Regions from separate parts of the Homo sapiens genome. Here regions 1, 2 and 3 are each linked to region 4. The links are contacts of gene promoters, found by promoter capture Hi-C in blood cells and fetal thymus (Javierre and others, 2016). All regions are on one chromosome and are shown on one strand. The core of a region is centred on a gene start or on the middle of the fragment in contact, and the rest is flanking DNA. Distances in the headings are between cores, read along the strand shown.

Region 1 (6,732 bases), core at 1,828-4,327, 400 kb after region 4:
ATGATGGGGCTGGCATATCTCTTAGACTCGGGTGAAAATAACAACAAAAAGAAAAAACAATATTAATAACAGCAGCAGATACCTACTTATTCACTACACTAAGTAGTTTTATGTGCATTTTAATCTTTGCAACCACCTTATGCTGAGGTAGGTGCCATTATTATTCCCATTTTGCAGATGGGTAAACTAAAAACCATAAGAGGCACAGCAAGGTCTTCAACACAGGCAGCTTCACTCCAGAGCCCCTATTCTTCACTACCATAGTATACATAAGTAGACTGGATGCTCCCCAAAGCAGGGACTGTGCCTTGACTATTTCCATCTCCACACACATAGGGCCTATACAGGGCAGTAAATATTTGCTGAATCAATTCACTTCTGGGGCCTGATGTTGCACAGCAGACAACATATTGGGTTTTTAGTCAGCTTCTAGACTTTACTTTTAGTATTGCTAAGTTTTGCACGTTGGGTTTTACAGTTGGTTTTTAATTGTTGACCCATATACTTATCCTTGTTAGTTTTTATCAACACAGATTTAACCATTGCTCTAGCCCACTGAGGTTTTATTTAATGTCCCCTATTTTTTCACCCAATATATTAGTACCTCCTCAAGCTTCATTAACTCTGTTGGCATTTATCAATGACCTCAATGAAATCAGTGATATAAAATACTGAACAGGACAGAGCCCCATTGCTCACCACTCAAGCCTGCTCTCTAGTCTGATGTCCATTCATACATAAACAATGAACCAGGTCATTTACATTTACTAGTCTGACTATACTATTTTTACATCATAATTTTACTCATATAGATGTCATTAGAGACATCCAAATATCTTACTAAAAGCCTGAAACACCCATGATATCTACTGCCGACCCCTGGCCCACCAGCCTGGCAGCTCTGTTAAAATAAGCAGCTTATGGTACAGCTGTTTTTAAAGAAGTCTCTTAAAGAAGAGGTATAGAACTAGACCATCTCACAGTTCCTAGAGATGGAACACCCTGCCCCAAGCAGCTGAACTGAATGAACACTGGATGCTTTCCTATCCCCAACTGCCACTCTCCATAATGAACACTGGATGCTCTCCTATCCCCAACTGCCACTCTCCATAATGAACACTGGATGCTCTCCTATCCCCAACTGCCACTCTCCATGAAGACAGCACTGAACACAGAACCCCAGGACAGAACAGAGCATTGGGCCCAGGAAGTATACCCTGAGACTGTCACGTTAGGCAAATGAGCTGGCACTGATTTCCAGGGAGCAGCGTCTTGAGTTGCCTGAGGTTGAGGCATGTGTCTGCCAAACTACGAGTGCATGCTGGAATTGGAATATCATTACCACAAAACAGGATTATCTTGAGCAACGATTCCAAATGGGATTAGAAATGACTCTTTCTTACTCAGAGATAATCGGCCATAGCAGTAGGGGTGGGAGAAACGTCAAGCCCAACACTTTCCTGGGGGCACGGTGCTGCGGTGCTGGCATTCTGGGCACTTGGCCAGCACCCTCACCCATCCTTCCTTGCTGGGGAATACTGGGTACTGTCCTGCACTGGGCAGGTGGCCACCTGTAACAAAAGCCAGCCTATATCAAGGTACCCTGCTCAGGGGTCCCATGTTCTTGGGTTCCCTGCCGGTTGCTTCTACGAGCACATCTCTGCTTTCCACCTTTGTGAGCCTATGCTCACAATGGTCCTTCTGCAAATGCTCTCCCCCTACTCCCTATGTTACCAATCAAATCCTGCCCAACTCCTCTGAAAGGGCCTCTTTTCATGATGCTGGCTCTACACAGCATCATCTCCTCCACAGCACTCTATGTGTTCTTCTCTGTGGCACTGAACACATTCTGCCTCATTCTCCAAAGCGGGACTTTTATCCCTTTTCTGAGTGTCAGCTTTCTGAGAACAAGGAGAGTGGCTTGTCTGTTTTTACAGTTCTCAAAATCCATATAATACATCATGGGTCATCAAGAAACCCTGATAGAGCCGACTTGACTCCTGGTTCCAGCATCCTTCGGTCCATCCCATGGCCTTGCTCCCGGCCCCTTCCCTCCATAGGCAGTGTAGTCCAGTGGAAAGAGCAAGGGTTTGGGGTTCAGAAAGACCCAGCTTCAAATCCTGGCTCCTTCTTTTACTAGCTGGACAACCTTGGACAACTCTGAGCTTCATTTTCCCTATCTGTAAAATAGGAATAATAATCCCTTCCTTTCAAGATTGCCCTGAGGATTAGACCCAACATGGGAAGTGCTTGACATGGGCCTGGCACACAGAAAGCACCCAATCAACTACTGCCATCATCATTACTACAGTCAGGAGATCACACAGCACAAAGCCCAGCCTCCTTGGGCAGAAGGTAGCCCTACTCTACAGCACGAAGCCAGACCAAGAATAGGTTAGAAGACGGAAAAGGCTCTGTGCCCCTAAGGCAGGACCGACTTCCATGTGGTTGGTCAGGTTCCCTAAGGACCTACTTTCAAGCACAGGTACACTGGTACTCTACCTGCTCCACGTATAGCTAGCCAGGAAGGAAGCAGAGCCTCCCAGGGAGGCTGCCAGTAGTCTAGCTGCAAGATTAGCATCTGCTCTTCGCTCTAAGAACACCCATGGAGCTGTTGGGGTCCACAAAGGAAGGCCTTTAAAACCTCTTCTGTAGGACAGCAATCTGGCTTAGGCTATCGGTTTTTTAAAGAAAGGGTTTAATGCACCCTCTCCCCTTAGTAAGGCAGAGGGAAAATAAGCAAATGCTAAAAATAAATGACTGCTGTGAGAGGGAATTGAATGGTCTTCAGCCAAGGATGGCAGCACTTTAAAATTAACAAAGCCCGGGTACCACATCCAGGAAGGCCTTGGCAAATGCGTGTTATCCACTCATTAGCTCAGTTCCTCGGGGACCCTGGCCAAGCAGGGAAGGCAGTGCCGGGAACCAGTCCTTCCGACACTGATGAAATGCACTCGGGGAGAAAAGGCAGAAGGAGGGAGGGAGACTCTTGTGGGGAATTTCAAACAGTTCTGATGTGCTTCATGCTCTGCCTTGCAGTTCTCACCTTCTCCGAGGCAAAGGCTTGCAAAAGCCACCACCAAGCCCAAGCAGGATGAAATCAAAATCTCCCCACACCAGCCTCCCTTTTCAGGATCTTTGGTTCCTGAAGCACCACAACGGCCTCACTATATAGGTGGTGTCCCTGCATGAGAGTCCAGAGATAAGGAACCCAAGAATAGTGTGGGAGAGGCAAGCTCCCAGTCTGTAACCTCAACTTTCTCCTTGCTGGAATGAAGAATCATATACTTTATGAATTTATACAAGTCCACTGTACACTACTCATAAAGTGAATTTATCACTATTCATCAGTAATTATACTTCATTACATCACTGATAGTATGAATTGACAAATCTTCATTCCCTACTAAAAATCAGAATGCATATCACTCTAATGTGAGATATCATCAACAATAAGAATTCAAAACATTCCAGGTGACCATTAACAATATGAATTAATTTTGATACTACTAATACAAATTCTCAGTATGCCACTGGTCACAATTAATAATGAAAATTAGAGAGGGATGACAGCTTTTTAAAAAGTGTTTAAAGTCAGTTTACTGAAGTATCACATTTACACAGAGTAAAATTCATCCTTTTTAAGATATATAATTTAATGAATTTTGATAATTATATACATTCATGTAACCAGCATGATAATCAGGATACAGAATATTTCTCCATCATCCCAAAAAGTTCCTTTATATTCTCTTCCCATTCCCAAACACTGGCAACCACCAATCTGATTTCTGCCCCTAAAGTTCTGTCTTCTCCAGAATGTCATATACATGGAATTACAGAGCAGGTAGCTTTTTGTGTTGGTTTTAGCTTAGCATGGTGCTTTTGTTGTTGTCATTGTTTGTTTGGCTGTTTTTACCGTATGGATATACCACAATTTGTTGGTCCATTCACCAGTTGATGGACATTGCATTATATCCAGTTTTTGGTGGTCATGAATAAAGCTGCTATAAATATTTACATACAGGTATTTTTGCAGACGTACATTTTTATTTCTCTTAGACAAATACCTAGGAGTTGCTATTGCTCTGTGGTATGGTAAATGTATACTTTACCTTTATAAGAAACTGCCAAAGTGTTTTCCAATGTGGCTATACCATTATGCATTCCTATCAGTGATGTATCAATATTGTTCTGTATCCTTGTCAGCCCTTAGTATTGTCAGTTTTCCTAAATTTTAGCTACTGTAGCAGGTATGTAGTGGTATCTCATTGTGACTTGAATTTGCACTGAGTATGTTTTCATGTGCTTATTTGCCACCCATCTCTTTTTCGATGAAGCATCTGCTAAAATATTTTGCCCATTTAAAAAAATTAGATTTTTTTTATTATTGATTTGTAAGACTTCTTTATATGTTCTGGGTACTACTGCTTTATAAGATACATGTTTTTACAGCTCCTTTTTTATGAATTAGAAATTATAAGAATCTAAGTCTTACAATTTTTCTTCTAAACCACTATCCTCTGCACATATACTCTAATTAAGGGACTAGGAACAACTTAAACTTCTAATTTACAAACATCTTAGTGCTGCTGGAACAGAGGGCCAAGAAGTACTTAAACCGTGCTAAAACTCATGAGACTATTTTTATCTCCATTGCAAGCACCTAACAATACCAGAGCTTTAAGGAAAGCTACATCTGGAGAAATGACTGTCCTATGAACAGCTTTTGGCCCCCCAGGCTCTGCACCTCCCAAAGCCCTGTTCTGGTCCACCAGACTTCTGGAATGGTCAACAGTCGTCACACTCCATTGCTGGCCATTGTTCACTGGGAAAGGTAGGAGGCTCCCAATCCATCCCTCAGTGGAAGAGCAAATAGTGGGGCCTGTGGCTGCTTGGACATCAAAGTTGAGCAAACAGGCCTGGCAGGCCCTGCCTCTCCGCCTACACATCCTGCAAATGCCATCTGAAGGAGCTTCCCCAAGGGGGTCATGACTTTCAGCCTGTCATAGAACACATCAAAGTTTGCACCACACACGAACTGGGTGCATGGGTTCGAATCAAGTCGCCCGAGAGCGGATACTCAGCCATTGTGTCCAGTTTTAATCCTGTGTTTTCCCAAGTAATTAAGCCTTCTTGCTTATGAACTTGTGACTAAGTAAAGCATCACCGAGAGGTTGTAACATCAAAGTGCCTTCCACCGTCTGTCCGTGTTTGGTAAAATTGGATTTCTTTTCCTTCTTAAAGAAAAACTAATTGAATTTAGCTGAAGGCTGTGTATATTTGCACAAGCCGGTGAAGGCTACGCTAAGTCACAGTGATCATTCTGGGACCCTGTGGCTTAGCCTTTAGCTGGACTGGGTCAGAGTGCAATATAGAATGAGACACCCAGACTCAGGCTAAACAAGTGCCTTGTGGCATGAGGCTTATAGAGGGCTAACTGTGGAGAAGGGGCCAGACCCCAATGACTGTTCCTTGAGTCAATACTATACCCAAGCTGTTACTAGGGCTGGCAAAAGGATTGTCCTAGTAGAATGTTGGTAAAGCTTTGGCAGCACGGCTACTGAAGACAATGGCCATCACATTACTCAAGTCCTGGATGTCGGCAGTCCAAGTAAGCTTCTTAAGGCAAAAGCTGTGACTGCTTATTCTCTGAATCCCTGATAGCCTAGCACATTAGCACCTGACACCACAGAGTTTTTAAATATGTTTGCTGAATATACATAATGATAATATATATTTTATATATATAAAACCATAAATATATATAATACATAAAGATATAACTCTCTGTATCCCTTTTTTGCCCTATCAGGAAACTTCAATCTAAATTAATACTCAATTTCCCTAATTACTTAATTTACAGTAAATACAGCATGGTCCCATTCATGTTAAATTTGTACATAAACATATATATAACAATCAATTTCCAGATAAAGGGAATTCAGGTGACTACTATTTTATGTATGATTTTTACAAAAACAATAAATCTATTTTCAGAAAAGAGAATCTCTGGTTCAATCTTTATACAATTATCTTTCCTTTAACCAATATGATTTCTGATCTTGATCCAGTTTTCCCTCTCCTGTGTATATTTATATTTGTATTTTAAGTCACTTCAAACTCTTTTTGGAAATAAAAGGAGAAAATAAATTATAAATTAAATTATTGTGCATATTTTTAAAGTGTAGTTCTATAGCACTGTTATTTCCTATTCAAAACCAAATAAAATGTACATACAGACCTAGAAATTCATAAGACATTAAGCTCCTTAAGGACAGAGACTATTGTATTCTATATCCCTAAAGACTTAACATATTATTAAGCAGCATCAGGGTGAAATGATTGGGCTACTCCGAGGATCTCTCTCTTGAGCTTGTGGCTGCCTACATCCTAAAGGAGGTGAAGGAGGTGAAGGTTCTCTGCTTTCAGCCTTGAATCAAGGGTGCTCCCCCTCTATCTTCCCTTCATCGAAATCTAATTCAAAGGTGGTAGCATTTCAGGCCTGACCAATATGATTCTGGAAGGATTTGGAGATTGATTATATGAAAATCAGTATATTTCTAATAAGGAAAAACTTATTGGCAGATTGTGCTGGTATGGATATGCTAATCCTCCAAGACTACTCACAGGGCACCTTAACAATGAGGCCTACTCACCCTGACCAATGTACTCCTGGTACTCCCTTTTTAACAAGTTCTACTTTTCCTTTTTCCCACGGCACTTATCTTC
Region 2 (7,289 bases), core at 1,973-4,472, 420 kb after region 4:
GCTCATAACAGGCCTTAAGAATGAATAAATGCCAAAGAATGGCTGGGTGCGGTGGCTCACACCTGTAATCTCAGCACTTTGGGAGGCTGAGGCAGGCAGATCACCTGAGGTCAGGAGTTCGAGACAAGCCTGGCCAACATAGTGAAACCCCGTCTCTACCAAAAATACAAAAATTAGCCAGGCATGGTGGCACGTGCCTGTAATCCCAGCTACTTGGGAGGCTGAGGCAGAAGAATCGCTTGAACCCGGGAGGCAGAGGTTGGATTGAGCCAAGATCGCGCCACTGCATTCCAGCCTGGATGACAGAGCAAGACTCCGTCTCAAAAAAAAAAAAAAAAAAAAGAAAAAAGAATGAATAAATGCCAAAGAAGATACAGAAATGGCCAATAAGCACATAAAAAGATGCTCACATCATTAGCCATTAGGGAAATGCAAATCAAAACCACAATGAGATACCACTCCACACACACTAGGTTTGCTGTAAGTGATGACAACACTGATGACAACAATTGTTGGTGAGGATGTGGAAAAGGTAGAACCCTCACACGTTGCTTTTGGGAATGTAAAATGGTGAAGCCACCCTGGAAAATGGTTGGGCAGTTCCTCAAAATGTTAAATGTACAGTTACTCTATGGCCCAGCAATTCCACTCCTAGGTATACACTGAAGAGACATGAAAACATACATTCACATAGAAATCTGTACACGAATGTTCACAGCAGCATTATTCATAATAGCTAAAAAGTGGAAACACAAATGTCCATCAACTGACAAATGACATCCTGTATGGATGTACATCCAATAAAATGTAGTACATCCATACAGGGAATATTATTCAGCCACAAAAAGGAATAAAGTACTGATATATGCTACAACATAGATGAACCTTGAAAACATTAAGCTCAGTGAAAGAAGCCAGACACAAAAGGCCACATATTGTATAATTCCATTTATATGAAATGTTCAGAACAGGCAAATCCAGAAACAGAAAGCAGATTAGTGGTTGCAACATCTAGGGGGAGAGGAGAATGGGGAGTAACTACTATTGGAACCAGAGTTTTCTGAGGGTCCGGGGTGGGGTGGGAGAGTGATAGAACATTCTGGAATTAGTGGTGCTGGTTGCACAATCTTATAAATGTTCTAAAATCCACTAAATTGTATATTTTTAAAGGTTGAATTTTATGGTATGTGAATTATACCTCAAAAGAAAAAAGAATGAATGTATATTCAGTCAGAATCTGCCTATTCTTCAGGAGGCAGAGAGTGCCTCATACCTAGAGGCACCCAAAGAGGGCTGGATGTTGACCATCAGAGAAGCTAAAGTGGGGACCTGAATACTGGAAAGGAAATGAGGCTGGAGACAAAAGTGCCTGAGATCCTGTGTGACCCATCTAGGGGTTGTGACTGAGCCCCTGATGTGTCCTGGGAAGGATCCTGCCCCTCCCCACCCCTGCTGGACTCTTGAGCCCTTGGGAATTCCGGGGGCCTCCCTCAATTGTTTGTGCTTTACATCCTGCCCCAGTACACTGTCCATCTGCAAAGGCTGGTCAAACACACAGGCTTCGCAGGAGGCCTGGGTGCTATCCCTTCAAACAAAAGGGCATTGAGATGGAAGCCTCAGCCCAGCCTCAAAGAGGATTCTTATGCAGCCTTCCTGAGCCTTCCATCCACATGAATGGAGGATCCTGGAGACCAGTCAGCCTGCCCAGCTGCTGCCTAGGGCTGTGCTCTCCTGCTGGTTAGCCTTTGGAGAATAAACAAGGTTTCTATCAACCAATCAATCAACGGGCCAGACTCCATCTGTACCATGTGTCTTCTGAGTGCCAGCCAGCCTTGTGTGACTTACTACGGTGAAGGCAGGAGAAGGAGGTGCCATACACCTTGCTGTGACAGGGCTCACAGCCTAGGTCAGGAGAAATACATAAGAAGCAACTGAAGAGAAAAGTGAAGAGATGAATCAGTAAACATGACACAGCAATGGTGTGAGGCAGGTCAATTATCATCCCTACTTTGCAGATGAAGAATCTAAGGTTAAAGATGTTAGACAACTTTTCCAAGGTCACAGAACTAACCAATGGTCACAGCCAGGATTCAAGCCTTGTTTTGTCAGACTCCAAAGTCCTCACCACTGCTTCCTGCTAATGATAAGAAATCCACTTGAAGGCCAGGTGCAGTGGCTCATGCCTGTAATCCCAGCACTTTGGGAGGCTGAGGCGGGAGGATCACGAGGTCAGGAGTTCAAGACCAGCCTGGCCAACATGGCGAAACCCTGTCTCTACTAAAAATACAAAAATTAGCCGGGTGTGGTGGCACACACCTGTAATCCCAGCTACTCTGGAGGCTGAGCCAGGAGAATCGCTTGAACCCAGGAGTCAGAGGTTGTAATGAGCTGAGATCGTACCACTGCACTCCACCCTGGTGACAGAGTGAGACTCCATCTCCAAAAAAAAAAAAAAAAAAGAAAAGAAAAGAAATCCACTTGTATTTGCATCCATTGACAGAATCACAAGGAGAGGACGACTGATTGCCTTAGAAGGACTTTGGGCCTAGGGCTCTTGCTCAGAAGGGAGGAACACAAAGGAGGCAGGACATAGTAGAGCCTCAAAGTTCAGAAACTGAAATTTTCTGAGGTTTTTTCAAAAAGGCAGACACAGAACAGGAAGTACAAGGCAAGCAGCTTAAGTGAATATTAGAAGCCCAGTAACACACTGGCTTGATTGTTTTCAATATTCTTAGATTCATCTCTGTTCCTCAGTTTCCAGGAAAATTCCTTGGGAGAAAAATTCCAGTTGGTTCTGGCGGTGCTGACATGAATTGCGTTATGATTTTGATTAAGCTGGGATTTTAGAGGAGAGATAGCACTTGGGCGACATAAATGATGGTAGGGAGGCAGAGCCTGACAACTGCCCCTGCTGTTAGGCCCTGAGCGATTACAGCTTTGTGGCCTACACTGCCTCAAGAGGCAGGACCATGCCCAAGATGATGCCTGGCACATACAAGCAGGAAGGCACTCACATTAGTTCCTCATGTTCCTCAGCCATCAGAATGGCTACTGATCATATTGATCCCCTCTCAACCCATCTCAGCTGCCACTGCCATAAAAATAAAGACAAAGCTTCTTCATGTGGCCTCTGATGCCCTGTAGGGTCTGCTTGTTCTAGGCTCCTGGCACCTTCCTCTAGCTGGAGTACCATTGGCCTTTTTCAGTCCTTCACACTGGCCTTGCTTCCTCCTCATGCAGGATTCTTGTAAATAAAAGTTCCTTGTGCTAGAGAGCTCTTCCCAACCTTTTCCACCTAGATAAACTCTTCCTTATCCTTCAATTCCAAGCTCAAGCTTCCTCTGACCAGGGGAAATCTGGCTGTCACAGGCTCTCCTGATTCTCTGTGTCCTTCCTTTGCAGCATTTGTACTAGTTGTCATTTCGCATTTGTAGGATTCACGTCTGACAAGGCTTTGAGCTCCATGAGGCAAATCCTGTACATGTCTGACTACTGATCTACCAAGCACAGTGCCACACATAGTAGGCACTATTTGTTTAATGAATAAACGATTGAACTACTTCATTTTTGTTTGTCCTCTGTCTACAGGTTTATTATGACTGTAATAGCTACACAGTTTGCTTAATTTTTATCATTTACAAAACACTTTTAGCCAGGCGTGGTGGCTCACACCTGTAATCCCAGCACTTTGGGAGACCAAGGCAGGACTGCTTGAGCCCAGGAGTTCAAGACCAGCCTGTGCAACATGATGAGATCTTGTCTCAATTAAATAAACAAACAAACAAAAACACAAAACGCTTTCAATGGCTGGGCATGGTGGCTCACGCCTGTAATCCCAGTACTTTAGGAGGCCGAGGTGGGCGGATCAAGAGGTCAGGAGTTCAAGACCAGCCAACATGGTGAAACTCCGTCTCTACTAAAAATACAAAAATTAGCTGGGCGCAGTAGCTGTCGCCTGTAATCCCAGCTACTCGGGAGGCTGAGGCAGGAGAATGGCTTGAACCCAGGAGGCAGAGGTTGCAGTGAGCCGAGATTGTGCCACTGCACTCCAGCCTGGGCAACAGAGCAAGACTCCATCTCAGGGGAAAAAAAAAAAAACTTTCAATAATATTCAGTGAGTATTTGGTAACTATTTACATGCACAGTGATGAACAACACAGCAATGGTCTGCTGCCCTCCAAAACTCACAGTGTTGTGAGGGAGAGAAGGAAACAGATAACCCATCCCAACAGAAGGTGGTAAGTGCTCTCACTTATATAGTACAGGGTGCTATGGGAATCCACAGATACTGGTGTTGTAGGAGTTATTAAGAAACTATTTCAGGCAGATAAGAGAGGGAGAGGTCCTTGGGAAATTTTCGTTTTTTAAAGCATCTCCAGAAGTTTCTGGTAAAGCCCCGTTCTTAGAGCCAGTCGGCAACCTTTGATATACAAATGAAGGCCATTAAAAAAACTGGGTCTACCCAGCAGAACGCAGTGGCTCACGCCTGTAATCCCAGCACTTTGGGAGGCCAAGGCGGGCGGATCACCAGAGGTCGGGAGTTCGGGACCAGCCTGGCCAACATGGAGAAACCCCATATGTACTAAAAATACAAAATTAGCCGGGTGTGGTGGCGCATGCCTGTAATCCCAGCTACTCAGGACATGGTGCCCTGCATTTGCATATTAAAATGCTAGGGTGGGAGGACCAGCTTTTTTGCAGGGTACATGAATGACATACCTAGTCAAACCAATCCCTTGAGTCCTATGCAAATCAGATACCACCTCCTCCAGCCTCTGTATATACCTGGCTGGTATCCATGGCAGGTGGGGTTCCCTCTCTTGGCTTTGGAGCCCCCTCCCTCTGTCTCTGTACAGGGGAGCTTCTTCCTTCTCCCTTCCTTCTTGCCCCTCCTTCCCTACTAAACTCTCTGCTCCTTAAAACCAATCCACGTGTTTCCGTGTCATCTTATCTAATTCGACATGAGACAGGAGCACTGGTGTCCCTCCACTCATCAGAGCCGTATCACTGGGGGATCAGGGAAGGCTTTCAGGAAGATGTGACAGTGATGACCGAAGGATGAGGAATTTTCCAGACAAGGACTCACCTGCCTGGAATGCTCACAAGATCCTGGGAGAGTGATGAGACAAGTATCATCAAAGATACTTTACAGTGGAGGCCCCCGAGGAAACTGAGAGACTAGCCCAAGGCCACACAGGGCTGGCTGTGCTCCTTTTCAGTGACATGACCCCTCCCTCCAGGCCCACTGCGTTAGGCCCTGGCTGTTCTCTGCTCATGGCCAACTGCCTGCCTCTGCAGGGCTTCTGGGCAGTTGACCACCTGCTCCCACAACTCACCTACCCATGAAGTTATAGAGAAGCTGCTAATCCAACCTTTCCCAATTGCCTTCCATCACCAGGGAACAAGCAATCAGAGCCTCAGCAAGCCACATACCCCAGAAAAGAAGCCAGGCACTACGCCACTCTGTAGAACTGCTTGAGAGGTACAAGGTCTACTTGAGCAAGCCTAGGGTTTCAGTGTGTGATCTGGACCCTTCCAGAAGGACTCAGCTTTCTCTGAACACTAGGAAACTGGCCGGGCGTGGTGGCTCACGCCTGTAATCCCAGCACTTTGGGAGGCCAAGGCGGGCGGATCACGAGGTCAGGAGATCGAGACCATCTTGGCTAACATGGTGAAACCCCACCTCTACTAAAAATACAAAAAATTGGCCGGGCGTGGTGGCGGGCGCCTGTAGTCCAGCAACTTGGGAGGCTGAGGCAGGAGAATGGCGTGAACCCGAGAGGCGGAGCTTGCAGTGAGTCGAGATTGTGCCACTGCACTCCAGCCTGGGTGACAGAGCAAGACTCCGTCTCAAAAAAAAAAAAAAAAAAAAAAAAAACTAGGGAACTGTATTTAAAAGGTCTCAGTGGGGACCCCATGAACAATACTTGGAAGCTAAGACTTAGGGTAGGTCAGTGACTTATTAATGGTCACATAGCTTGTTAGTAACTATGACAAAAGTAAAACGAGGTCTTTTAATTCTAAAACTCTTGTATTCTTTCTGTAACATTATGCTGCCTTTCCAACATTCTGGAAAGGCATTCAAAAAACCTGTGTACACCCTAGCATTCAAAAAACTGTGTGATGATCTTCAGAAGCTCTCACTATAAGTATCAAATTACAGGAGTGATGCCCTTGAGGCCTTGACCTTTGGTCTAGGATAAAGCTTGTGTTTCAATCCACTGCAAGCCACAAGGATATTTACATACTTCCTGATTAAGAGAGCTGGATGTTTTGGTTGCTCTGATGCCATCATTAATATCTTCCCATCCAGCCAAAATGATACAACAATCAATAAACAGACAGCCTCTCTGAGGCCCCGAGACAGCCAAATGTATTTACCAGCCAGGGTTTTGTTAATTAGATAAAATCCCTGGATCAATGTGCAGGACATTTACCTATGCTGTAACTAAGTACATTCTGGACACCTCAATCCTGGCACATGGACAGCAAGTGCCTCAAGCCCCAAGCTGGGGCATCCAGGGACGAGAACCAAACCAAGCCATCAGTGCAAAGCTAGAATAAATATGTTTACCCCTCAACAAAGCCCAACCCTTTCTTTTTTCCTGAACTGTAAACCAAATCAGATTTTTTTCCCCAAAGCCATCTAGTAAACCAGTTTGGGCTAGTATGAAGTTCTTTATTTTCTAAAGCCATAAAACCAGAAATCAAAACAGGACACCAAAAGAATCTCCTAAATGATAATTTAAGAGGCAACATGGCATGTATAGTGGGAAGTCAGAAAGACCCAGAGGTTCTAGTGCCTAAATGACATTTCCATTGGCATGTTAAATTCAGCATGTTTAAAACTGAACTCATAATCTTTTCCCCAAACCCAGTGTTCCTCAGGGATCCACATCTCGGTGAATGGCAAGAGCATCTACACAGATGATCAAGCCAGAAAACTGAAATTCATTAAGACCCTTTTCTCCCTAATCAACCATATCCATTTATATTCATTCATTTATTGAATACTTACTGTGTGGCAGGCACTGTACCAGGCATTGTCCTAACCATCACCAAGTCCTATCTAGTTTACTTCCTCCATCTCTGCTGCTGTCATCTTAGTCCATGTCACATCTTCTCTCATCTGGACTACTCCAGCTACTTTTCAACCAGTCTTCCAGCATCCAACACAGATCTCTACCAATCTGTTCTCTACCAAACAACCAGAATGATCTTTCAAAACTGCAGATCTATATCATGTCACAATGTGTACCTGTTAGTCTTTCTCACACATACACATACTG
Region 3 (6,889 bases), core at 1,645-4,144, 270 kb after region 4:
GGCTTAGAGCTTCCTTTTAACCATTTATGGAGTAGGTCTTCATTTCTTGATGTAAATCCAAGCATCCCTCTGGTATCACATTCCATCTTCCTGAAGAACTTCTTTAACATTTCTTGTAATGCAGGTCTGATGAATTCTGTCACCTTCAGTTTGTCTGAAAAAGTATTTCACTTTCATTTTTGAAATATTTTCATTGGGTATGGTATTCTGATGAGTTTTTTCTTTTTAGCACTTAAAGTACGACCTTCTATTCTCTTCTAGCTTGCATAATTTCTGGTGAGAAGTGTGCTTTGTTCTTCTCAATGTAATATGTCTTTTCTCGTTTTCAAGACATTCTCTTAATCTTTGAGTTTTGGAAGTTTGAGTCTGATGTGTCTAGACATGTGTGGTGGTTTTAAAATATGCATGCATATTTTTAATGTATACTGCTATCTCTATATCCTTTAAAAGGTGAAGCTTAAAGGCTGGGCACGGTGGCTCACGCCTGTAATCCCAGCACTTTGGGAGGCTGAGGTGGGTGGAACACCTAGGTCAGGAGTTTGAAACCAGCCTGACTAACATGGAGAAACCTCATCTCTACTAAAAATACGAAATTAGCTGGACATGGAGGTGCATGCCTGTAATCCCAGCTACTTGGGAGGCTGAGGCAGGAGAATCGCTTGAACCCAGGAGACGGAGATTGCAGTGAGCCAAGATCACGCCACTGCACTCCAGCCTGGGCACAAGAGCAAAACTCCGTCTAGAAAAAAACAAAAACAAAAAAGTGAAGCTTAATTCTCCTTCCCTTGCATTTTTGGGACTTCTATTGTAATGAATGCAATATGGTGGGAATGGTGGTGTTCTGCTTCTGACGCTTAGGGCATGTAAGACATTGTGGCTTCTGCCTGCCTCTCCCTTAGATTGCTCTGGGGTACAAATTGTCATGTTGTAAGGACTTTAAGCTGATATGTTTTAGTCATCAGGAAATTATACTTATTTTATATAATTAATTGCCTAAGAAATGCTAAATGGATGAAGCGATACTGCAATGGGAAGAAACAAAGATAAAAACCCAAATCATGAGATTATGCCGTGGAGTCTTACTGATTTGTTCTTCCTGCAAACACTCGGTAAGCATCTATTGTGTGTATGAGTATGTCCAGGTAAGCTACAGAAATCAGGTAGAGGAAGGAAGACCCTAAAACAGTTTTCAACTTTAACCTGTTAAAATATGAGCCATAACTTTTTGGATACAGCTCTATTCCCCTCCCCCCCATTTTAAAAAGAAACTCTATTAGAATGTGGTTCATTTAACTTTTAAAAGTTAATCGACAATTTTTTTAGAGCAGCTTTAGGTTCACAGCAAAACGGAGTGGAAAGTATACAGCATTCCCATACCCCCCTCTCCTGCCCTAGTACCAACCCCCCCCAACAAAGCCTTCATTATCGATATTAGCATCAGATTGGAATATTTGGTACAATCAATGCACCAATATTGACACATACATCATAATTGACCAAAGTCCATAGTTAAAGTTCACTGTATTTACATTCTGTAGATTTTGACAAATGTATAATAACGTATGCCCACACTTGTAATATCATACAGAATAATTTCACTGCCCTAAAAATCCCCTGTGCTCCACCTATTGATCTCTCTCCACTTAAGTCCCTAGAAATCACTTCTGTTTTTACTGTCTCTATAGTTCTGTCTTTTCCATGATGCCATATAGTTGGAATCATACAGTATATAGGCTTTTCAGAATGACTTCTTTCACTTAGTGATAAGAATGTAAAGTTTCTCTATGTGTTTTTATGGCTTAATAGCTCATTTCTTTTTAGCATTAAATAATATTCCACTGTCTGGATGTACCAGAGTTTCTTTATCCACTTACCTATTGAAGGACATTTTAATTTCTTTCAAATTTTGACAATTATGAATAAAGCTGCTACAAACATTCATGTGTAGGTTTTTGGGTGTACGTAAGTTGTCAACATAGTTGAGTAAACACAAAGGAGCTCAGTTGTAGGATCATATGGTAAAAGTATGTTTGGTTTTGTAAACAACTGCTGTCTTCCAAAGTGACTGTATCCTTTTGCATTCCCTCCAGCAATGAATGAGAGTTCCTATTGCTCCACCTCCTTGCCAGTATTTGGTATGGTCAGAGTTTTGAATTTTAGCCATTCTAAAGTATAGTGGTATCTCATTGTTTTAATTTGCAATTCCCTAATGACATAGGATGTGGAGGATCTTTTCATATGCTTATTTGTCATCTGTATATCTTCTTTGGTGATGTGTCTTTTCAGATAGTTTGCCCGTTGTTTAATCTGGTTTTCTTATTGTTCAGTTGTAAGCATATATTTTGAATATTCCTGTATCACATATGTCTTTTGTAAATATTTTCTCCCAGTCTGTGACTTCTTTTCTCATTCTCTTGACATTTAACTTTGATATATTAAAACATTTTTTTGAAAGCATGTATTTCCTTATTTTTAAAACTGAGGCATAATTTTTGAGATATAAAACTTTGAGATATAATTCACATCATAAAATTCACTCTTTAGGCGGGGCACAGTGGCTCATGTCTGTAATCCCAGCACTTTGGGAGGCCGAGGCGGGTGGATCACTTGAAGTCAGGAGTTCCAGACCAGCCTGGCCAACATGGTGAAACCCTGTCTCTACTAAAAATACAAAAATTAGTAAGCTGTGGTGGCGCCTGCCTGTAATCCCAGCTACTCGGGAGGTTGAGGCAGGAGAATTGCTTGAACCCAGAAGGCAGAGGTTACAGTGAGCCAAGATCGCACCACTGCACTCCAGCCTGGGCAACACAGCGAGACTCTGTCTCAAAAAAATAAAAATAAAAAAGGCCAGGCGCTGTGGCTCACACCTATAATCCCAGCACTTTGGGAGGCCCAGGCGGGCGGATCACGAGGTCAGGAGATCCAGATCATCCTGGCTAACACGGTGAAACCCCGTCTCTACTAAAAATACAAAAAATTAGCCGGGCGTGGTGGTGGGTGCCTGTAGTCCCAGCTACTCGGGAGGCGGAGGCAGAAGAATGGCGTGAACCCGGCAGGCAGAGCTTGCAGTGAGCTGAGATCACGCCACTGCACTCCAGACTGGGTGACAGAGCAAGACTCTGTTTCAAGAAGAAAAAAAAAAAAATTCACCCTTTGAAGTGTACAATACAAGGATTGCACAAAGTTGTGCAACCACCACCACTATGTAATTCTAGAACATTTCATCACTCCAAAAAGAAACCCCCAAGTTCATTATCAGTCATTTCGATTCCCCTTTCCCATTACCTGGCAACCACTAATCTACTTTCGGTCTCTGTGAATTTGCCTATCTGGACATTTTCATATAAATAGAATCATCTACTATGTGGTATTTTGTAACTGGATTCTTTCATTTTGCATATTTCAAGGTTCATGTTGTAGTGTAAATCAATACTTCATTCTTTTCATGTCTGAATAATATTCTGTGTATATGTATAGATACACCATATTTTATCCATCCATTCATCAGTTTGATGAACATTTGGGTTGTTTCCACTTTTTAATTATTATGAAAAATGTTGCTATGTACATTGTGTGTAAGTTTTTGTGTGGCTGTATGTTTTCCTGTCTCTTAGGTATAAGCTAGGAGTAGAATTGCTGGGTTAGATGGAAACTCTATGTTTAACTTTTTGAGTGACTGTTAGGCTCTTTTCCAAAGTGGCTGCCTCACTTTACATTCCTACCAGTAGTGTATGAGAGTTCAATTTCTCCAAATCCTCACCAACACTTGTTATTGCCTATCTTTTTTATTATAGTCATTTTGGCGGGTATGTATAGTGGATTTGATTTGCATTTCCCTGATAGCTAATGACACCGAACATCTTTCATGTGCTTTTTAACCTTTTATGTATCTTCTTTGGATAAATGTCTATTTAGATCCTTTGCCTGTTTTAAAATTGGGTTAATTTGCTTTTTATGGTTGTGTTTTAAGAGTTCTTTATATACTCTGTATACTAGACTCTTATCAAATCTGAGTTTCAAAGATTTTCTCCCATTCTATAGGTTGTCTTTTCACTTTCTTTTTCTTTTTTTTTGAGATGGAGTTTCGCTCTTGCCCAGGCTGGAGTGCAATGGCACAATCTTGGCTCACTGCAATCTCTGTCTCCTGGGTACAAGCGATTCTCCTGTCTCAGCCTCCCAAGTAGCTGGGATTACAGGCACACGCCACCACTCCCAGCTATTTTTTTTTTTTTTTTTGTATTTAGTAGAGACAGGGTTTCACCATGTTGGCCAGGCTGGTCTCAAACTCCTGGCCTAAGGTGATCTGCCCACCTCAGCCTCCCAAAGTGCTGGGATTACAGGCGTGAGCCAGCACGCCCAGCCAAAACTTTTCAATTTGGATGAAGTTGCATTTATTTTTTCTTGTTGTTTGGTTTTAGTGTCATATCTAAGAAACCATTGCCTAATCCTAAAAAAAAACTGTGGTAAAACATACAAAATATAAAACGTCACAATTTTGACCATTTTAAAGTTTATAATTCAAAGGCATTTAGTATACTGACAATGTTATGCAACTATCACCACTATCGGGTTCCAGAACGTTTCATCACCCGAAAGAAAATCCTACACCAGTTAAGCAATTACTCCATTCCTCCCTTTCCCTATCCTGGCAACCACTCATCTACTTTTTGTCGCTCTATATATGCATATTCTGGACATTTCATATATAGGAAATAATACAATATGTGGCCTTTTATGTCTGGCTTATTTTACTTAGTATAATGTTTTCAAGGTTCATCCATGTCGTAGCATGTATCAGTACTTCATCCTTTCTATGGCTGAATAATATTAATGATATGGATACACCACATTTTGTTTATCCATTCATCAGTTGATGCATATTAGGGTTGTTTCTATCTTTGGGCTATTGTGAATAGCAAAAGAAAAAAGAAAAAACATGCAGAACTTTTTGTTTGAACATCTGCATGTCTCTTAGGTATAACCTAGGAGTAGAATTGTTGGGTCATATAGAAACTCTGTTTAAGCTTTTCAGTGACCGGTAGACTCTTTTCCAAAGTGGCGGCATCATTTTACATTCCTACCAGCAATAAATGAGGGTTCACATTTTTCCACATCCTTGCCAACAGTTATTTCATTACTTTGTTTTTGTTTTACCTTATAGTCATCCTAGTGGGTGAGAGTAGTATCGCGTCATTTTGATTTGTATTTCTCTAATGACTAATGATATTGATGATACTGAGTATCTTTTCATGTACTCATTGGCCTTTTGTACATCTTTTTTTGAAGAGATTACAACTATATCTTCTTCTAAGAGTTTTATCATTGTTTTAACTCTTGTGCTTAGGTCTTTGATCCCGTGTAAGTTAATTTTTGTGTATGGTGTGGGGTAGGGGTCCAGTTTATTTTTTTGTATGTGGATATTCAGTTGTCCCAACATCATTTACTATTCTTTCCACATTATGTTTCATAATTTTTTCATTGAATGTTGGACATCACGTGTAGAACAGAAGAGACTGTAATAAATAGTATTTATGCCTAGAAATGAGCATGCCTCTCCTTTTCATAGGCTGTTTGTGTGGGTAATTGAGGTAATTTAGTCCAGATTTGATCTGGGTTTAGGTTTTATTGTTACTATGGTTACCTTCAGTGTACTATCAGATTTTTTTTTTTTTCTCTGTTGCCCAGACTCTGGAGTGCAGTGGCGTGATCTCGGCTCACTGCAAGCTCCACCTCCTGGGTTCACACCATTCTCCTGCCTCAGCCTCCCGAGTAGCTGGGACTATAGGCACCCGCCACCACGCCTGGCTAATTTTTTGTATTTTTAGTAGACACGGGGTTTCACCATGTTAGCCAGGATGGTCTCGATATCCTGACCTCGTGATGAACCCGCCTCGGCCTCCCAAAGTGCTGGGATTACAGGCGTGAGCCACCGCACCCGGCCTGCTATCAGCTTTGAATTCCTCTAGCATTACCTTATGGTTAGGGTGGAGGCTGGGTTGGTACAACTTTATCAATTTTTTTATGTTTCAAAATTGATTAATTTTCCTCATCTCTTGACTCTTTCTATTCTTTTTGTCCTCATGGGTAATTACTTTTTTTCCACATTTAAAAATTGTGAAAAAATATACATAATGTAAAATTTGCCATCGTAACCATTTATACATGTATAGTACAGCAGTATTAAATACACTTTAAGGCCGGGCATGGTGGCTCATGCCTGTAATCCCAGCACTTTGGGAGGCTGAGGCGGGCAGATCACCTGAGGTCGGGAGTTCGAGACCAGCCTGACCAACATGGAGAAACCCCGCCTCTGCTGAAAATACAAAATTAGCCAGGCGTAGTGGCACATGCCTGTAATCCCAGCTACTAGGGAGGCTGAGGCAGGAGAATTGCTTGAACCTGGGAGGCGGAGGTTGTGGTGAGTTGAGATCGCGCCATTGCACTCCAGCCTGGACAACAAGAGCAAAACTCCATCTCCAAAAATAAATAAATACACTTCATATTTTGTGCAACCATCACCACCGTCCATCTTCATAATTCTTTTCATCTTGAAAAACAGAAATTCTATACCCATGAAACAGTAGCTTCCTATTCCTTCGTCTCCACAGACTCTGGAAACCACCATTCTACCTTCTGTCTCTGTGATCTTAACAATTCTGTGTACTTCATATAAGTAGAATCATACAATATTTGTCTTTTTTGTTAATTTGTATGTGTGTGTGTGTGAGGCAGAGTTTCACTCTGTTGCATGAGCTGGAGTGCAGTGGTGTGATCATGGCTCGCTGCAACTTCAACCTCCCAGGCTTAAGTGACCCTTCTACCTCAGCCTCCCCGGTAGCTGGCATCACACGCAAGTGCTACCATACCCAGCTAATTTTTTTCATGTTTT
Region 4 (5,393 bases), core at 374-2,873:
TTGAAGCTGGCAGGGGATTCCCAGTCCAGGGAATATCCCTACATGATTTTTGTCATTCATGGGTCCTCCCTGGGCCTGACAACGGGAGTGGTGGGTGGGTGAGAACAGGTTCTGAGAGGGGGCTTCTAGGAAGGCCCCAGCCCTAGTCCTAGGCGACTTGAATAAAGTGGGAGGTCAAACATGGGCCTTCGGCATTGGGTTTCTAGGGAATATGGCTCAGTAGGGCCTGCCCCTTCAAGGGCAGCAAGAACGAAGCAGGATGTTGTCACTCCCGTCTGAATAAAGCTCCATGAGCTGGGTTGGAAAGCTGAACATTTATCTTGCTTTCTTCTTCCCACCTCTTTCCCTGGGGTCCCCAGGGGTGTCTTGCCTTTGTTAACCCCCATCGGAGACCTGAGGGTCTGGGGGTGGTTGGGCCTGCCTTTCTGCTGTTCCCAGCTGTTCCCCTGCTGACATCCCTAGGAGTGGTGGAATGCCAGGCTCCTGTCCTGTGGCCTGGGGGCCTGGGGCATCATTGGGCCTGCCTTCAGACTGAGGTTGCTCTATGTTCTCACTGCCTGAGGACAGTGTCCCGCCACCACCTGCCTTCCTGAGGACCACACTCAGGCTCGGCTTCTCTTCCCCAGCTGTGGCTTCCCATGGTACCCTGCTGCTTATGCCACCTGTGGGGCTGTTCCCCTCCTCAGAGAGGGGAATGGGGCTGGTCAGAGGACCTAGGGATCACCCTTCCTTTTACTTTTTCCCCCCACCCCCCTGTCAGGCTCAGGTGAGAAGCCGAGGCCAGGCTGTCCAAAGCTCTTTTCATGTGTAACAGTTCTGAGTCCCTTGACCTCCCCCCTTGGCCTGACTCTGGTCTCGGTTCCACTAAGACAGAGTCCTGTCATCTTTCCCTACCATCCCCCACTGGACTGTCTCTCTCAGAAACCCCAGGCAGCCTTGCCTCCTGACCTAACTCCTGGAGATGCTGGTGTTCTTGGGAGGAATTTCTCCTGCATCTTACATGCTAGAAGCCCCTGGGGCAGGAGGTAGGGGGAGGAATTGAGAGGAGGAAAAACATGAACTAGACACCTAGAGAAGAAGGATGTGACTTGTAGTATCCTATGTCTAAATTAGGAATATGAATCTGGTTTTTCTACAAGAAGTTTGAGATCACAGCTGACTGTGTTCCTGATGCATCCACCAAACCCAGTTCCATCTGTGGGCCTCCCTGGCTCTGTCACCAGCCGTTGCACCCTCCCAATCACAGGAGTCACAAACCTCAGACATGCAGCTCCTGTCCACACTTAATATATGCATGCATTGGATCACCCAGCCCTGGTCTTTCTGCCTCCATGGATAACTGCATGACCCTGAGAGAAAACCTCCTTAGATTTAGCATCCTAGGTTCCTCACACGCCTCACCCTGAATCCTGGCCCTCCCGCAGCCCCAGCGCCATTTGTCCCATCAGTGACAAGATTCATATTCTGATGTAGACTCTGTTGCCAGAGCCAGTGTTGAGCCAGTCCGCCTCTTCCCCGGGAAGTGCCTGCCCTTCCCTCCTGTTAGGGTTGGCTCTCGAGCTTGTGTGCCAGTTCCTGGGTTGGCCGTGAGAGTTCTACAGACAAGGAGGAAGTGCTCTCGGTGTATTTCCTGTGGTGGGTTCACACGCAGCTAGACACAGCTAACTTGAGTCTTGGAGCTCCTAGAGGGAAGCTTCTGGAAAGGAAGGCTCTTCAGGACCTCTTAGGAGCCAGGTAGGAGTCTGGGACTACTAGTGAACCTAGACCTGTGGCTCTGGCCAGAGGGGCTAGGATGAGAGACAGAGGGTGTGATGGTGGGTGCTGGGAGATGTAGCCGACCTTGGGGCTGGTGGCTGGGGGAGTGGGTAGCCTGGGAAAGGCCAGGATGTGGACGGACTGGTATGGCATTGAGCCTGAAGTGGTCCAACTTGGGGTTCCCCAGTGCCTAGGAAAGTTGTCCCCTTGAATGTCAGTGTGAAGGTGAAGGAGGAAGCAGATGCCTGTTCATATGGAAACAAAGACCTGGCTGTGAAGAGGGGAGGCGGACACCAAAGTCCTGACACTTGGGCGGGACAGAATTGATCTGTGAGAGACTCATCTAGTTCATACCCTAGGTGACCCTGGGGGTGGCATGGGGGTAGATTAGAGATCCCAGTCTGGTATCCTCTGGAGAGTAGGAGTCCCAGGAGCTGAAGGTTTCTGGCCACTGAACTTTGGCTAAAGCAGAGGTGTCACAGCTGCTCAAGATTCCCTGGTTAAAAAGTGAAAGTGAAATAGAGGGTCGGGGCAGTGCTTTCCCAGAAGGATTGCTCGGCATCCTGCCCTTCCCAGAAGCAGCTCTGGTGCTGAAGAGAGCACTGCCTCCCTGTGTGACTGGGTGAGTCCATATTCTCTCTTTGGGTCTCAATTTTGCCTTCCCTAATGAAGGGGTAAGATTGGACTAGGTAAGCATCTTACAACCATTTGTGGTCATGAGAGCTGGGGTGGGGAAGGATTGTCACTTGACCCCCCCAGCTCTGTTTCTAAGTGCTGAAAGAGCTCCAGGCTATGCTACGGGAGGAGAAGCCAGCTACTGAGGAAAAGCCAGCTACTGAGAAAAAGCGGGAGTGGTTTACCATTCTCCTCCCCCACCTTTCACCAGAGAAGAGGACGTTGTCACAGATAAAGAGCCAGGCTCACCAGCTCCTGACGCATGCATCATGACCATGAGACACAACTGGACACCAGGTAGGCCTTGGGGCTACGCATGGGCAGGCGGGGTAGGGTGAGGTCTATGAACAGAATGGAGCAATGGGCTAACCCGGAGCCTTCACTCCAAGGCAAACCACCCAGCGCACCTGGTGCTGTTGCTTTAAGAACCTGGGCAGATATTGTAGCTCTGGCTCCAGTCTAAAGCTTCTCTGTACTCTGTTCAATAAAGGGCTAAGGGGTGGGTGCTGAGGGGTCCCTCTTCCCGCTCTGATTCCCTGGCTAGAACCCAGACATCTCTGGGCTGGAGTTACATCCTTACCCGGGCAGCCCACTCTGTCTCCAGAGCCGCTGACCTGTAACTGTCCTTTCCTCAGACCTCAGCCCTTTGTGGGTCCTGCTCCTGTGTGCCCACGTCGTCACTCTCCTGGTCAGAGCCACACCTGTCTCGCAGACCACCACAGCTGCCACTGCCTCAGTTAGAAGCACAAAGGACCCCTGCCCCTCCCAGCCCCCAGTGTTCCCAGCAGCTAAGCAGTGTCCAGCATTGGAAGTGACCTGGCCAGAGGTGGAAGTGCCACTGAGTAAGAAGCACAGTGGTGGAGGGTGGGCTATGGGCACAGAGGTTCCCAGGGTCGGGTTGACTCCTGAGCGCCAGTCCCCTTCTGCCCATGTACCACCAGCTGAGCCAGCTGGGCTGAGCACGCACCATTCTCCCTCCCCAACCCAGTGTCATGGGTGCAGGCTTGGCGCAGCTCCCAAGATGCTCCCTATCAAATAGGACAGAGAACTCAAGACATAAGTAATGGTCACAGGACCTCCCAGAGCCTTGGTTGCAGTGGACCCCAAGGCCAGCCCCTCCACCCAGAGCCTGCTGGCCTCTGGCCATCTCAGAGGAGCAGCAGCCATCCAGCACTGCCTTTGTCACCTGGGCTCCCAAGTCACCGAGGCTGGGCACTAGAAAAGGTCATCCTGAGGAGACAGGTTCAGAAGAGGATTCATCACGTGAACCAAGGACCATTCCTCACATTCCCCGTGTTTAGGGCTAGGGCCTCTCGGAGACAACTGCACTTCTGTAACGGACGTTCCCACCTAGGTGGTGTGCAGAGCAGTTCTCTAGGTTCCAGATGCATGGGGACTGGGGGGAGCTGGCAGGGAGGGCACAGCAGAGCAGGGTAGGGGAAGGGCCTGCTCTTCTGAAGAGCTAACTGCTGCCTGTGTCCCTAGATGGAACGCTGAGCTTATCCTGTGTGGCCTGCAGCCGCTTCCCCAACTTCAGCATCCTCTACTGGCTGGGCAATGGTTCCTTCATTGAGCACCTCCCAGGCCGACTGTGGGAGGGGAGCACCAGGTGAGGGTCGCAGCAGCCAGGTGGGTGGGAAGGAGGCCTTCTGCGGCCTTCTCATGACCTTTCCTTCCCTTCCGCTCCAGCCGGGAACGTGGGAGCACAGGTACGCAGCTGTGCAAGGCCTTGGTGCTGGAGCAGCTGACCCCTGCCCTGCACAGCACCAACTTCTCCTGTGTGCTCGTGGACCCTGAACAGGTTGTCCAGCGTCACGTCGTCCTGGCCCAGCTCTGGGTGAGGAGCCCAAGGAGAGGCCTCCAGGAACAGGAGGAGCTCTGCTTCCATATGTGGGGAGGAAAGGGTGGGCTCTGCCAGAGCAGCCTGTGAACTAATGCCCAGCATTCCTCAAGGTCAGCCAGACAAAAAGGAACTTAGGTCTTGGGCAGAGGAGGTGTAGCCTGGGGCAAAGTGATGAGATGTCCCTCCTTTCCTTGGCCTGATCCTTGTCTGCCTTCACTTCCCTAGGCTGGGCTGAGGGCAACCTTGCCCCCCACCCAAGAAGCCCTGCCCTCCAGCCACAGCAGTCCACAGCAGCAGGGTTAAGACTCAGCACAGGGCCAGCAGCAGCACAACCTTGACCAGAGCTTGGGTCCTACCTGTCTACCTGGAGTGAACAGTCCCTGACTGCCTGTAGGCTGCGTGGATGCGCAACACACCCCCTCCTTCTCTGCTTTGGGTCCCTTCTCTCACCAAATTCAAACTCCATTCCCACCTACCTAGAAAATCACAGCCTCCTTATAATGCCTCCTCCTCCTGCCATTCTCTCTCCACCTATCCATTAGCCTTCCTAACGTCCTACTCCTCACACTGCTCTACTGCTCAGAAACCACCAAGACTGTTGATGCCTTAGCCTTGCACTCCAGGGCCCTACCTGCATTTCCCACATGACTTTCTGGAAGCCTCCCAACTATTCTTGCTTTTCCCAGACAGCTCCCACTCCCATGTCTCTGCTCATTTAGTCCCGTCTTCCTCACCGCCCCAGCAGGGGAACGCTCAAGCCTGGTTGAAATGCTGCCTCTTCAGTGAAGTCATCCTCTTTCAGCTCTGGCCGCATTCTGCAGACTTCCTATCTTCGTGCTGTATGTTTTTTTTTTCCCCCTTCACTCTAATGGACTGTTCCAGGGAAGGGATGGGGGCAGCAGCTGCTTCGGATCCACACTGTATCTGTGTCATCCCCACATGGGTCCTCATAAAGGATTATTCAATGGAGGCATCCTGACATCTGTTCATTTAGGCTTCAGTTCCACTCCCAGGAACTTTGCCTGTCCCACGAGGGAGTATGGGAGAGAGGGACTGCCACACAGAAGCTGAAGACAACACCTGCTTCAGGGGAACACAGGCGCTTGAAAAAGAAAAGAGA

Evidence for each region. Contacts are between HindIII fragments. The CHiCAGO score rates a contact against its expected background, and 5 or more counts as called.
Region 1: a fragment that was not itself captured here is called in contact with the fragment with the promoter of IL18BP in region 4 in 1 of 17 cell types (monocytes); the score reaches 5.2 in monocytes.
Region 2: a fragment that was not itself captured here is called in contact with the fragment with the promoter of IL18BP in region 4 in 8 of 17 cell types (naive B cells, erythroblasts, naive CD8 T cells and 5 more); the score reaches 10.0 in naive B cells.
Region 3: a fragment that was not itself captured here is called in contact with the fragment with the promoter of IL18BP in region 4 in 1 of 17 cell types (monocytes); the score reaches 5.1 in monocytes.

What each region holds. Positions count from the first base shown.
Region 1 is chr11:72,393,318-72,400,049 of GRCh38, forward strand. The region is part of intron 3 of CLPB (ClpB family mitochondrial disaggregase); the gene reads right to left. Among named protein-coding and RNA genes, the nearest start is that of CLPB, 38 kb to the right of the region's middle. The HindIII fragment of the contact is 4,933 bases long and covers 612-5,544 here.
Region 2 is chr11:72,416,414-72,423,702 of GRCh38, forward strand. The region is part of intron 2 of CLPB (ClpB family mitochondrial disaggregase); the gene reads right to left. Among named protein-coding and RNA genes, the nearest start is that of CLPB, 14 kb to the right of the region's middle. RefSeq lists enhancers at 1,616-2,303, 2,304-2,991, 2,992-3,678, 4,361-5,560. The HindIII fragment of the contact is 221 bases long and covers 3,113-3,333 here.
Region 3 is chr11:72,270,088-72,276,976 of GRCh38, forward strand. No RefSeq gene overlaps it. Among named protein-coding and RNA genes, the nearest start is that of PHOX2A, 29 kb to the left of the region's middle. The HindIII fragment of the contact is 4,255 bases long and covers 768-5,022 here.
Region 4 is chr11:71,997,286-72,002,678 of GRCh38, forward strand. It overlaps IL18BP (interleukin 18 binding protein), which reads left to right and starts at 1,624. Exons shown (of 6, transcript NM_001039660.2): 1 at 1,624-1,734; 2 at 2,642-2,727; 3 at 3,066-3,272; 4 at 3,916-4,039; 5 at 4,120-4,267; 6 at 4,499-5,393. The coding sequence starts at 2,700. The coding sequence ends at 4,576. It overlaps RNF121 (ring finger protein 121), which reads left to right. Exons shown (of 9, transcript NM_018320.5): 9 at 1-312. The HindIII fragment of the contact is 5,155 bases long and covers 1-1,691 here.